3 separate regions of the Homo sapiens genome follow, and regions 1 and 3 are each linked to region 2. Evidence: promoter capture Hi-C in 16 types of primary human blood cells and fetal thymus (Javierre and others, 2016). All regions are on one chromosome and are shown on one strand. The core of a region is centred on a gene start or on the middle of the fragment in contact, and the rest is flanking DNA. Distances in the headings are between cores, read along the strand shown. Region 1 holds the start of MROH6 (maestro heat like repeat family member 6). Region 2 holds the start of NRBP2 (nuclear receptor binding protein 2). Region 3 overlaps HSF1 (heat shock transcription factor 1).

Region 1 (3,525 bases), core at 790-3,289, 270 kb before region 2:
TCAACAGGATGGGGACAGCCTCAGACACGCATGGGACATTCCAGGAGCAGTTACCTAGGTGCAAACTCCCTATGCCCATCCTCCCCGCTCCTCGCCACCCCCCACCCCCGCCCCCACCCCCTGGTAATGGCTGGAGCCACCTACCGCCAGTGCCTGGGGCTCCGGCCCCGAAGCACCCTTCAGCGCCCACAGCAGTTGCACCAGCACCTGCCCATTTACACGCTGGTTACGGCTTAGGCTGCGCCAGAGCTCGGCTGCTACCCTGAGGGTTTGGAGGGGGCTGGTGTGAGACAAGAGATGGGTGGGTGTCCAGGGAATGTAGGGAGTCCCCAGCCAGGGTGGAGGCAGCCAGTAGGACTCCAGCAGGGGAGGGGCAGGAAACCCCTCCCATCTCCCCCCATCCCCAAATCTCAGAGAAACAAATGAAGGGTTAATTGTGCAGACCACAACATAGCCTATCTCAAGCTGAGCTGCAGGGTGGGGACCCACTGGGAGTCCCGTTGGGTCAGCGACAGTGAAACAAACCTGGCATTATTAAAAAGAAAAAAATTGCCACAGAGAATAAAACCAAAGATAACTTCTGGGGCCAATTAACCAAAGAGCCAGGGGTGTCCAGGCACGTTAGCCCCCCAGCCTCATTCACCCCACTCCGGAGCCAACCCCAGGACGGTCTCCAGGGGAGGCCACCCGAAGATAGAAGGTGGCTCCAAGAGAGGAGCCCAGCATCAGAAACTCTGTGGCAGGAGTGTGGGGGGAGTTTGCGGAGCTAAAAATGAGGGGAGCGGGAATGGATACGGGGCATGAGTCATCGCGGGGCTGGAATAAGGAGGCCCTGCCCCTTTTCAGCTCCCTCTTCTGGGGCCAGACTCCACCGCCAAGCGGGAAGAGGGAAGGAAGCCGCGTGGGGACCGCAGGGCCAGGACGGTTGGGTTACCGATCGGCGGGCAGAGAGCGGGGTAGCAGCGCACACACCACGTCCCGCGCATGCTCCAGGGCCAGTGCGCTCAGCACTCGCAGGGCCGCCCTCCAGGGCCTCCCCTCCGCTAGGCTGGGCACCTGCGCCAGCAGCCCACGCACCAGAGCATGCACCTGGTGGGGAAGGGGGCAGACTTCAGCAGTCAGGCCTCCTCCACCGTCCATTCCCCTCTGGCCTGCACCCCACCTCCACCCCCACCCTGATCCCGCCTGGCAGGAGCAGCCTGAAGATGGCAGGGTCAGGCTGCGCTCTCCAGGCCCCTCCCACCACCTTGGTGCCCGAACCGGCAGGATTCTGTAGGGCATGAAGTGGGTGAAGGCTGACCTGGTCCTCCAACCGCTCGCCCCGGGCCTCCAGGGCTGAGGACAGGGTGAGCACTGTCGCCTGGGTCCCTGCAAAGCCAGCCTCCTCCAGGCAGGCAGCCGTGTACAACGCGAGGTCGGCAAGAACTCCCTCCTCCCAGGAACTCTGGGGAACCTAGGGCAGGATGGGTGGGGCGTCTGAAGTGCCCAAACCTCTCCTAGCTCTCCTCCTGGTCCCTCGGCCTCCCACCTGGCTTCCTACAAAATCCCTTGCTCCTCTGTTGCTCACCAGCCTGTTTCACGCTGACCTCCCCCGGGGCCAGCACCGCCCCCCTGCCACCCCGCCTTCCACCTACCATCCACAGGACCCCCAGGCCGGTTCGCACAACATCCCTTCCCTCCCCCGTCACCTGGTGGGGCCCCTCAGGGGCTGGTTCCAGGGCACTGTTGAGGGAGCAGGGCTCGCTGCCAGCTTCAGGGACGGTGGCCCCACGTCCAGGCTCTGCCTCAGAGGGGGCGGTGAGTGCCTGGGTCTGTGGCTCAGCCTCAGGTTTGACCTCCCAGGACTTGGGCTGAGGGCCTGCGGAAGGGGGTCCCTGGGGCTGCCCCTGCCTGGCCCGGATTCCTTCAGTCAGTGCTGTCAGGGTTAGAGCCCCCACGGGAGCCTCCCGGGCCCGGCTCCGGCCCCACACACCCCCAGCCATGGCGGCCCTTGCCTGCAGCACCTGCCGCTGCTCCTCCTGCGAAGTTGTGCCCAGGACTGACCTAGAAGCCGCCCCGGGCGGGACCACGGACGGGCGTGGTGGCGTGCGCTAGCGTGAGCTTGCGGGGGCTGGGGAGCCACACGGACGTGCCTACAATGGGCCTTTGAGGGGCCCTCCTGCCTGGGCTGCTGGAGGGGAGTGGCCACCTGCAGCCTGAGTGCCTGTGGTGTGGCTCTACCCACCAGGGCCCTGAGAACAGGATCCCCAAGAGCTGGCAGATCCACGAAGAAAGGGGGAGAAGGGCCCCCACCCTGACTACCAGCCCCTGTTGACCAGGGAGCTCAGGGCAGTTGTGGACAGCTCTGAGGAGGTCCTCGCAGGGTCCAGGAGTCTGGGCCCCACCCTGAGTCGAGGCCTGATTCAGCCCCCAAGCAGCAGTCAGCTCCCCACTGGGCCTGGGGCTAGGGGCTGGCCCCGCCCCCTGCACGCTGGCTCCGCCCCCTGCACGCTGGCTCTGTCAGACACCTTGCAACAGGCATGACTGGGTGAGCTTGGGGCAGCCCGGAGGTGTGGAGGGGGCAGTGAAGACACCAGAGGAGCGGTGGCCCCTCCAGAGCTTGTGCAGGCCCCTCTGGGTCCTGGGTCCTTGGCCAAATCTCATGTTGAAACGTAATCCCCAGTGCTGGAGGTGGGGCCTGGTGGGAAGTGATTGGATCCTGGGGGCAACTTCCCCCTTTGGTGCTGTTCCCATGATAAGACTTCTCAAGATCTGGTTGTCTGGAAGTGCGTGGCACCGCCCCACCCCTTCCTCCGGCCATGTAAGACCTGCCCGCTTCCGCTTCCACCAAGATGGTAAGTTTCCTGAAGCCTCCCCAGCCATGCTTCCTGTACCTGCAGAACCACAGGCCAATTAAACCTCTCTTCCTTAGAAATTACCCAGTCTCAGGTATTTCTTTACAGCAGTGCAAGAACGGAAGAATACAGCCACTCTGGCTGGGCCCCTCGGAGTGCGCGGGTGCCCTGGGGGTGCCTGGGGTGTGGTGTGTTCTGTCCAATGTGTGTGAGTCTGTATCTCTCTCCTAGCTCGTACTCCCCGGGGCTGGCTGGACTGGGCCTCTGCTCCAAGTCCCCACCCTCCACCCTCAGCCAACCACACAGTGGTGCTGCCCACCCTGAAGCCCGGGGAGCCAGGTGAGCTGGTCTGGTGGAATGCCTGGGCAGACGGAAGTGCCCCAGGCGGTCAGCATTCCCCCCACACCCTTGCCTGTCTGTGCCACCTCAGGCTGCTTCGACAAGAGAGGCCCAGGCCCCCAGCCTCCACTTCCTGCCAAGCCTAGAACCTCTCCCCCAAGCAGTTCCTCTTGAAGCTCACGTTGCCCAAACTGGCGGAACCCTGAGATCAGGAACTTGCTGGTGCAGAGGCAGGGCCAGCCCAGCACAGCCACGTGCAGTGCCACTCTGGCCAGGTGTCTGGGGCTGAGTCATCTCCTGGAGCTTCAACTTCTTCCCCATTCTTCCTCTCCTTCCGTGGGCTGCTGGGTCA
Region 2 (4,049 bases), core at 406-2,905:
GCCGATCTTGATGAGGCCGTTGTGCTGAATGAAGATGGTGTCGCTGGTCAGGTTCCCGTGGATGATTGGGGGGCTGCAGGCGTGCAGGAAGCTGCAGACGTTGGGGAGGGGAGAGTAGGAGGAGCCGGTCAGGAGGCTCTGGAGAGATGGGGGCTCGGTGGCGCCGCGCCCAGGCCAGCCCAGGCCCTCACCTGAGCGCAGACAGGATCTGCGTGCACCAGCGCTTCCAGGCCTGGCGGCGGACGCACGACTCCGTCGGTCGGGTGGGCGCAGGAGAGGCGGCTGGGCCTGCGGAGCCCGCCCCGCATCCTCGCCCAGCCCCTGTCCGAGGCCGCCGGGCACCCCCTCACCATCCCAGTCCCCGAGGCTGCCCCAACCCCGTCCTGTCCCCGTGGCTGCCCCAGCCCGCTCCCCATACCCGGGCGTTCATGGCCTTGTGGTTCTTCTTGGTCTTTTTGAGGAATTGCTTGAGGCTGCCTGATGACACGTACTCTGTGATGAAGATGACCTGCACGGTGCGAGCTCAGGATTTCCACCAGCTGCGGGTTCGTCCCCATGCCCGCCCCACCTAGCTGTGGTCTCTGCCTGCCCGGGGCCTTGCCCGTGCTCACCCTCGCGCAGGCCTCAGAGGTATCCAGCCAGTACTTGTGCAACTTCACGATGTTCGGGTGGTCCACCAGCACCAGCTGCTCGAACACGGTCTGGATCTTCTCCTGGGGAGGGAGGGTGGTCGCTGGGTGGTCAGCAGGTGGTCACCCAAGCAGGATGAGGAGGGGGCAGCGGTCTCACCTCGTGCGCCGCGAAGGCCTTCCTGTCTCCGAAGTGGAGCTCGTTCCACACCACCTCTACCCCCTCCTCCGTGTCCATGGCTAGGAAGGTGCTCTGAAGCCCTGGCATGTTCCCTTGGTTTACCTGGGGGTGAATAAAGGGTTATGTGTGCCCTGGTGTGTGTCAGGGTTGTGGGTGAGGATTTGGTCCCTGTCCACACCTTTCCAGTGGGCCCAAGCGTGGGCTGCAGGCCCTGAGCCACTCTGCGGGAAGGTGGGGCTTGGAGGGTAGCTGCCCCCAGGAGCCAAGGGCTCCTATCCAAGGGCTGGGCTAAGGGGATTTGGAGCAGGTTTCAGGGGGTCGAGGGGGATCCCCAGGAAGCTAGCGGCTGAGTCCAGAGGCATGGGGAGGTGGTCCTGGGAGGAGACTGGCCCTCAGGGAGTCCCAGGGCGAGCGCCAGGCCAAAGGGGTCCAGGGGTGGCTGATTCGCGGGCCGCGAGGGGCCGCGGAGAGGTTTCCAGCCGCCGCGCTCTCCCAGCGCCCCCACGCCCCGCGCAGCCTCCAGGCCCCTCCCGCTCTGGGAGGGCGGTGTCACCCCGTGCCCCAACCCCCGCGCCCACCTGCTCCCGTCGCTTTTGCCAGCGACCACACGGGCTTTCCTCCAGGATGTCGCTCTCGTCCTCGCTCTCGTCCTCCCGCTCCCGCTCCCGTTCCCGGGCCCGCCTCGGCGCCGGCTCCGGGGCCGCCATGGTTCGGCCAGCCCAGGCCACCGCCCTCTGCGCGATCCGCCGCCGGCGCAGCCTCTCCCGGCCCGCCCTGGCCTCGCGCCCAGCAGCCCAGCCTAGAGCCGCCGCGGCAGCCTAGAGCCCCAGCCCCGGCTCTGGGAATTGGGAGGCGCGGGCGCGCGGCGGACGGGCGGGGCCCGGGGGCGGAGCCGGCGCGCACCTCCCGAGCCGCCTGTGCCTGCCGGAGCCAGAGCAGAGCTTCCCCGAGAGCTGCCGAGCCCGGGCCGCGCCCAGGCCCCGCCCCCCCGGAGGCCCCGCCCCGCGAAGCCCCGCCCCAGTCCCTGTTTCCTCCTCGTCTCCCAGGCCTGCTCCGCGAAGCCCCTCCCCAGGCCCTGTCCCCTCCTCGTCCTCCAAGCCTCCTTCGCGAAGCCCCGCCCCAGGACCCGCCCCACCCCCGCGAATCCCCGCCCCGTTTTAGTCCCCGCCCCCGCCCGTTCCCAGGGTCCTCCGCGAAGCCCCACCCCAGGCCCCGCCTCACCTCCTCGAAGCCCCGCCCCTATGAGGCCCCGCCCCGCGCAGAGGAACCGCCCCCAAATCCCCGCCCCCTCGGAGGCCCCGCCCTGCGGACACCTGGAGCCCGGAGCGCCCACTTCTCTCGCGGTTGCTCCCCTAGGATCTGGGGGAAGACCCGGGGCATCTGGGGGCCCCCAAGCCCACGGCACCCTCCAGCTGCAGAAGACCCCGCGGGCTCGAAAGCGGGACCCGCTCTCCTGGCCACGCACTCATTCCCCGGCCGACCCCCAAGGGACAGGTCGAAGGGGCACCGAGGGCGGGGGAAAGGCCCACCAGCAGGCTGACCCAGGCTGACTTTGATCGGTGACCACGAATCTCTCCCTGGCCCGCCCACCAGTGCCTCCTCCCGCCCACAAGCCCATCTTCTCACTTTCCAGGATGGCGATTTTCTCTTTTCTCCTCAAACGCGCATTTCCTTTCCGCGGCTGGCTCCCATGGGACAGTGGAACCATGAGGGGGGAGCCCACCCGGCTCACACGACCTCTCCCTCCGGAGGCCGCTCTAAGCACACCCTCCAGCCACGCCGACCACCGGGGCTGTCCCCGATTCTCACCTAAAACCCCCTTCAGCCCACAGCCCCCACGGCCTTCCTGTGGTCTCCTCCCTCCTTCACGGCGGGTCCTCATCCTTTACCTTCTCTCTCTGGAGCCCAAATTGGAACTCCGCTCCTCCCCTCCGCGCAGCTCCATGCACTGGCCCTTTGGGACGCCTCTTTCTTTCTTTGGCAGAGGTGCATCTGGCCCTGCTGCGTCCCCTGTGGTCTCTCTTTTCTGACCAGCCTTGGTCACCAGGCACCTTGTGTGTGGTTTCCACCAATGCCAGGTGATCCTGCTGAGGCCCTCTGCAGTAAAGGTTTGGGGTGTTCAAATCCTCCACCCTGAAACTGGCCCTGACCAGCTCCTGGGAGACACCCTCTAAGCCCTTGGAATGTTCTGCCTGATTTGAATGTCTGTGTTTACCTCGGCCACACCAGATTCTATGCTAAGCTTGTCCAACCCGCAGCCCAGAGGGTGCATTCGGCCAAGGACAGCTTTGAATATGGCCCAACACAAATTCATAAACTTTCTTATTGAGATTTTTTTTAAAGCTCATCAGCTGTTGTTAGTGTTAAGTGTATTTTATTTAAGGGTATTGCCCAGGACAATTCTTCCAATGTGTGCCAGGAAAGCCCACAGATTGGACACCCCTGGTCTGTGCTAACAATATGGTCTACGGGGGGACCTTGGGCCATGTGGCATCAGCCTGACCTCTGCAGGGGCTGGAGGCCAAAGTCAGCCACCTGGGAGGTCAGCCATGCCTGTGTGACCAACCCAATAAAAACCCTGGACACTGAGGTACGGAGGGCTTCCCTGGCTGCTGACATGCTGTGCTCATTGTCACACCTCAGTGCTGGGAGGTTGAGCACTGTCCCCATGCCTGCAGTGGGTGGGGACACCTGCAGACCCGTGCTGGTCTGTCCTGGGTTCTGTTCTGTGAGTCCTTGCCACTGCTGATTTTAACGCATCCATTGCTGTAATAAATAGTACCCTTTCCGAGTTCTGTGAGTCCTTCTAGTGAACCATTGAACTTGAGGGTGGTTTTGGGGAGCCCCCCCAGTGGTCCCTTCTCACTTGGTATGAGGGCCTAAACATGAAGGCCCAGTAATTGGTCCCATTACCCTACCTCACGTCAGCTGCCTTCTTCAGCTGAGCCCACCCCAAGTACACGGCCCTGTGCCATCGGACATGACAGGCACTTCCCCTCAGGGTCTCTGCCCTGGTTATACCTTTGCCCGGAACGCCCTTCCCAAACATCCTCTGAGGTCACTTCCTGAGAGGCCTGTCCTGACCACGAATCCTGACATCACAGTCCCCACACCCTTTCGCCTGCTTGACTTGACTTTTCCCGGAGTATTCACCCCACCTGACTTGCATCTGGGTTTTTCTCATCTCTCTTCTTCACTGTCTGTGTCCCTGTTGCGATTCGAGCTCCCGCAGGGCAGGA
Region 3 (3,861 bases), core at 14-2,513, 450 kb after region 2:
ACCCGGACACCGACGCGCTCATCTGCTGGAGCCCGGTGAGGGCAGCGCGCGGGCGCGGGGCCCGTGGGGACCGGGAGGGAGCAGGGCCGCGGCGGACGGCGCGGGAGGGCTGCGGGGAGGGGCCCTGCCGCACTTCAGCTTACGCGCGGTGAGCCTGCCCTGCCCCCGCCAGAGAAGGGCGGCGGGTCCCGAGCCTGCTCAGACCCAGAGCCTTAAGTTGGGAAAGCGGCTACGAGACCCACACTCGGTTCAACCCCTGCCCCAGCGAAGTTTCCCTGGGATGGGGAGAATGGGGCGTCTCTTGTATTGGGCTTCTGCTAACTGTTGGGCGGTTGCGGAAGTGTCCGCGCTTAGGGCAAGCACCCGGCTTCGCCAGCGGACGCTATGCCCCAGAGGACATCGGCGTCCCCAGGGGACAGCCTACGGGGTGCTGGGTCGGCAACTATTAGGAGAAAGTCAGGACTTGGCACGTGAAGTGGAGGGCGTTGCTGTAGTGGAACAGGAAAGGCAGTGGAAACAGTAAGACGTCATGAAGCTTCAGGTTGATCTCAAGCCCGTTTCCGAATCCCAAATCTGGGTTTCCCAAGAGGAGTTTTGTTTTTCATTCCTTATGGGGCATCTTTATTCGTGTTTCTGTCTTCAGTTGCCTGGCAGCAGGCTTGTTTACATGGTCCGACCCTGCAAGACCGGACAGCTCCGGTTTGCAGAAGTAAATCAGTGATTGTCTGGAGTTGGAGATCAGAATCTGCTGTTCACATCCCGGCTGTGACGTCGTGTCCGGTGAGGGGCAGAGCCACCGCCTGCGGCTGGCAAGTGATGACCTGAAGAAGGGCCACACTGGCCGAGTGGGGTGACTCTTGCTTGTAATCCCAGCACTTTGGGAGGCGGAGGCGGGTGGATCACTTGAGGCCAGGAGTTCGAGACCAGCCCGGACAATATGGCAAAACCCCAGCTCTACTAAAAATACAAAAAATTTGCCGGGCGTGGTGGTGCTTGCCTGTGGTCTTAGCTACTTGGGAGGCTGAGATAGGAGGACTCCCTGGACCTGGGAGGCAGAGGTTGCACTGAACCAAGATCCCGCCACTGCAGCCTGGCAAAGAGTGAGACCCTGTCTAAGAAAAAAAAGAAAAAAAAGAAAGGCCACTGATCATTGGGAGCTTTTGGAGGCACCGTGACCGGCAGGGTGCCACCAAGCATGTGTGGCCTCCCAGGAGCTAAGACCCCAGAGTTCTTCAGGCTCTGCTGAGTGCCTCCCATTTGCACAGCCTCTTTATGCTGTTAGGAATGAAGAAAAGTCTAAACTGAAGCTGCCCCAGGCAGGAGGCCAGGTTTTCTGCTTCTTGGGTTTACTGAGGCTCTGCTTTACCTACAGAGTGTTTGGAAATAAAGAGAAGACTGGAAATCTTTGCTCTTGTTAGAAACACTTTGTGTTTGTCCCGCTGACACCTCTGTGTTGGCCTTCCCATCCCCAGGTCCCATTAAGGCACAGTGCACCTTCCTGGAGGCTGGCTTCATTTCACCATCTCTTCATTCTAGACCTTGGATTCTTGTGCAAAGGAAATACTCCCATGTTTCTGTCTTCTTTTATCCGTCTTTTTCTTTTTTCTTTTTTTTTTTTTTAGACCGAGTCTTGCTCTGTCACCCAGGTTGGAGTGCAGTGGTGCGATCTCGGCTCACTGCGACCTCCACCTCCCGGGTTCAAGCAATTCTGCCTCAGCCTCCCGAGTAGCCAGGACTACAGGTGCGTGCTGCCACACCCGGCTGATTGTTGTATTTTTAGTAGAGACGGGGTTTCACCACATTGGACAGGCTGGTCTGGAACTCCTGACCTCAAGTTATCCACCCGCCTTGGCCTCCCAAAGTGCTGGGATTACTGGTGTGAGCCACTGCACCCAGCCCTTCTTCTTTTTCTTATTCCCCTTAATCCTCAGAAGTTAAGGGGAATAACTCCCCCATTGGGGGAGGGGCATCCGCGATTATCTGGGATATTCTAAGCTTAATCCTACTAGCGTGATCTGTCCTGTCCCGTAATCTGCTTGCTGTTTCTGCTTAAAGATTATGAGGCATGTGGGTTAGGGCCCAGTGTACCCTTTTTTGGGACCGAGGCATGTTCTGGGCAGGGCTTTTGAGCAAGGAAGGCAGGTGTGATGAGGCCCGTGGCCAGCCTCCACTCCACTCACAGGTGCACCACCTGTGGATCTGTTCTCCCTGGGGAGGGATGGGGAGCCAACTGGAATGTGAGTGTTTGGTTCCACCTGGTCAGTATGAAGTGGCAATGGTTGGTGCAGGACGTAGCACTGGGGGCGAGCATGGCAATGAGACAGAAACACTGACTTAAAACTGGAAGGAAGCCCTTCTCCAGGCCGCGCAGGGGGCTGCAGAGCTTTCCGGCGCTGGCTGCCTGGCCTGGAGAAAGGAGGTGATCATCCCATCCTGTGACTTTGAGAGCACTCACACAAGCCCTGAGGACTCCCTGTCAGCAGAGTCCCAACAGGGCACCCTCCCACAAATCTACTGCCCAGGCCCAGCTGGCTCTCGGAGGCCTTGAGAAGGCCCTGGTGCTCTTGCTCTCTGCTGCCTTCTCTGGGAGAGTCTCCTTCTGGCTCAGAGTCTTACCACCATTCTGCCAAGAAAAACCCTCCCTATTTGACACAAGAAGATGAGGCAGAATCACAGGCATGGTGACTAACTCTCAAGGCTGAATAACCTGGGGGAGACCGAGGCCCAGAAACTGGCCAGTAACTTTACTGAGCCTGGCCAGGAATGGGACCAGGTCTGGACCACCATTGCACGTCCCCTCCCTGGCCTGAGATCAGGACTCCCACTGCAGCCACTGGAGGCAGAATGCCGGGTCACTGCCCAGGAGACCCCATTGGTGGGGACTGTGGCAGCTACCCCATCCCTGTGTTGTTTGATTTCCCACCCCCCCCTCCCAAGACCCTCATTCCCATGAGCACCCCACCCACACAGGCAAGGGCCTTGAGGGGACCCAGCAAGTCGTGGAGGACAGCACAGCCTTGGAGAGGAAATGTGTCAGCCACAAGGTTATGATCCCGGGGATCCACATAAGAGCATGGGCGTGCACGTGGGTGGTCCTCCCTCAGCCAGCTTCTCAACAGCTTCTCCCAAAGGTACACCTGGATCCAGTACCACTGAGACCCAAAGACGGGGTTGGGGGACTGAATACCTGGACTGACAGGCACCTCCATAGAACTGAGACCCATGAGACCCGGGACCCGCAGCCTCCCTGCCCCGTGCCCTGGTGCCGGCCCTCAGCCCAGCTTCCTCGTCTGCATGCAGCAGCTCCTCTGTCCACCAGCAGAGGCTCTTCTAGGGCCTTGCTGGGCTGCAGCTGACTCAGGAGGGCAACAGCCTCTTCAGAGAATTTGACAGCATGGAGAACCAAACAAAAGCAGAAAGTGAAGCCTCAGAACTGGGTTCACCATCATCCCAGTTTTTTACAAGCTATGATTTTGTCCCATCTTTATTAACAAGATAAGGAAGTATGAAAAGTAATCTCGACATCTGAGATGGTGAGATTACAGCCCCAGGAGCCACCCAGCTGGCTGAGGAGCCTGAGAACAAGGCACAGCCACATGACCTGTGCCAGACAAATGCTAGAATGATGGTCACGCAGGTTAGAACGAACCCAGGTAGACGGAGGCCTCAGGATCAGGGTGAGGCCAGAGGGGGCACCTGGGTGCAAAATTTAAGGAAGCACTTTTTGTTTTTTAGATAAGGTCTCGCTCTGTTGCCCAGGCTGGAGTGCAGGGCTATGATTGCAGCTCGCTGCAGCCTCTGCCTCCCAGGCTCAAGTGATCCAGTCACCTCAGCTGAGTCACTGGGACTACAGGCTTGCAC

The links. Contacts are between HindIII fragments. The CHiCAGO score rates a contact against its expected background, and 5 or more counts as called.
Region 1: a contact is called between the fragment with the promoter of MROH6 here and the fragment with the promoter of NRBP2 in region 2, in 1 of 17 cell types (naive B cells). The highest score is 7.2, in naive B cells.
Region 3: a fragment that was not itself captured here is called in contact with the fragment with the promoter of NRBP2 in region 2 in 3 of 17 cell types (monocytes, M0 macrophages and erythroblasts); the score reaches 7.8 in monocytes.

What each region holds. Positions count from the first base shown.
Region 1 is chr8:143,570,733-143,574,257 of GRCh38, forward strand. MROH6 (maestro heat like repeat family member 6) reads right to left here and starts at 2,040. Exons shown (of 14, transcript NM_001100878.2): 1 at 1,689-2,040; 2 at 1,301-1,453; 3 at 935-1,089; 4 at 145-262. The coding sequence starts at 1,982. It also overlaps a transcript of NAPRT not described here. RefSeq lists an enhancer at 549-1,398. The HindIII fragment of the contact is 15,945 bases long and covers 1-3,525 here.
Region 2 is chr8:143,839,318-143,843,366 of GRCh38, forward strand. NRBP2 (nuclear receptor binding protein 2) reads right to left here and starts at 1,656. Exons shown (of 18, transcript NM_178564.4): 1 at 1,389-1,656; 2 at 790-912; 3 at 612-713; 4 at 419-508; 5 at 192-232; 6 at 1-91. The coding sequence starts at 1,517. RefSeq lists enhancers at 1,543-2,273, 2,274-3,003 and a silencer at 1,558-2,117. The HindIII fragment of the contact is 4,061 bases long and covers 1-3,050 here.
Region 3 is chr8:144,291,840-144,295,700 of GRCh38, forward strand. HSF1 (heat shock transcription factor 1) reads left to right here. Exons shown (of 13, transcript NM_005526.4): 1 at 1-35. Among named protein-coding and RNA genes, the nearest start is that of HSF1, 2.2 kb to the left of the region's middle. RefSeq lists a silencer at 1-112 and enhancers at 244-900, 503-562. The HindIII fragment of the contact is 1,460 bases long and covers 534-1,993 here.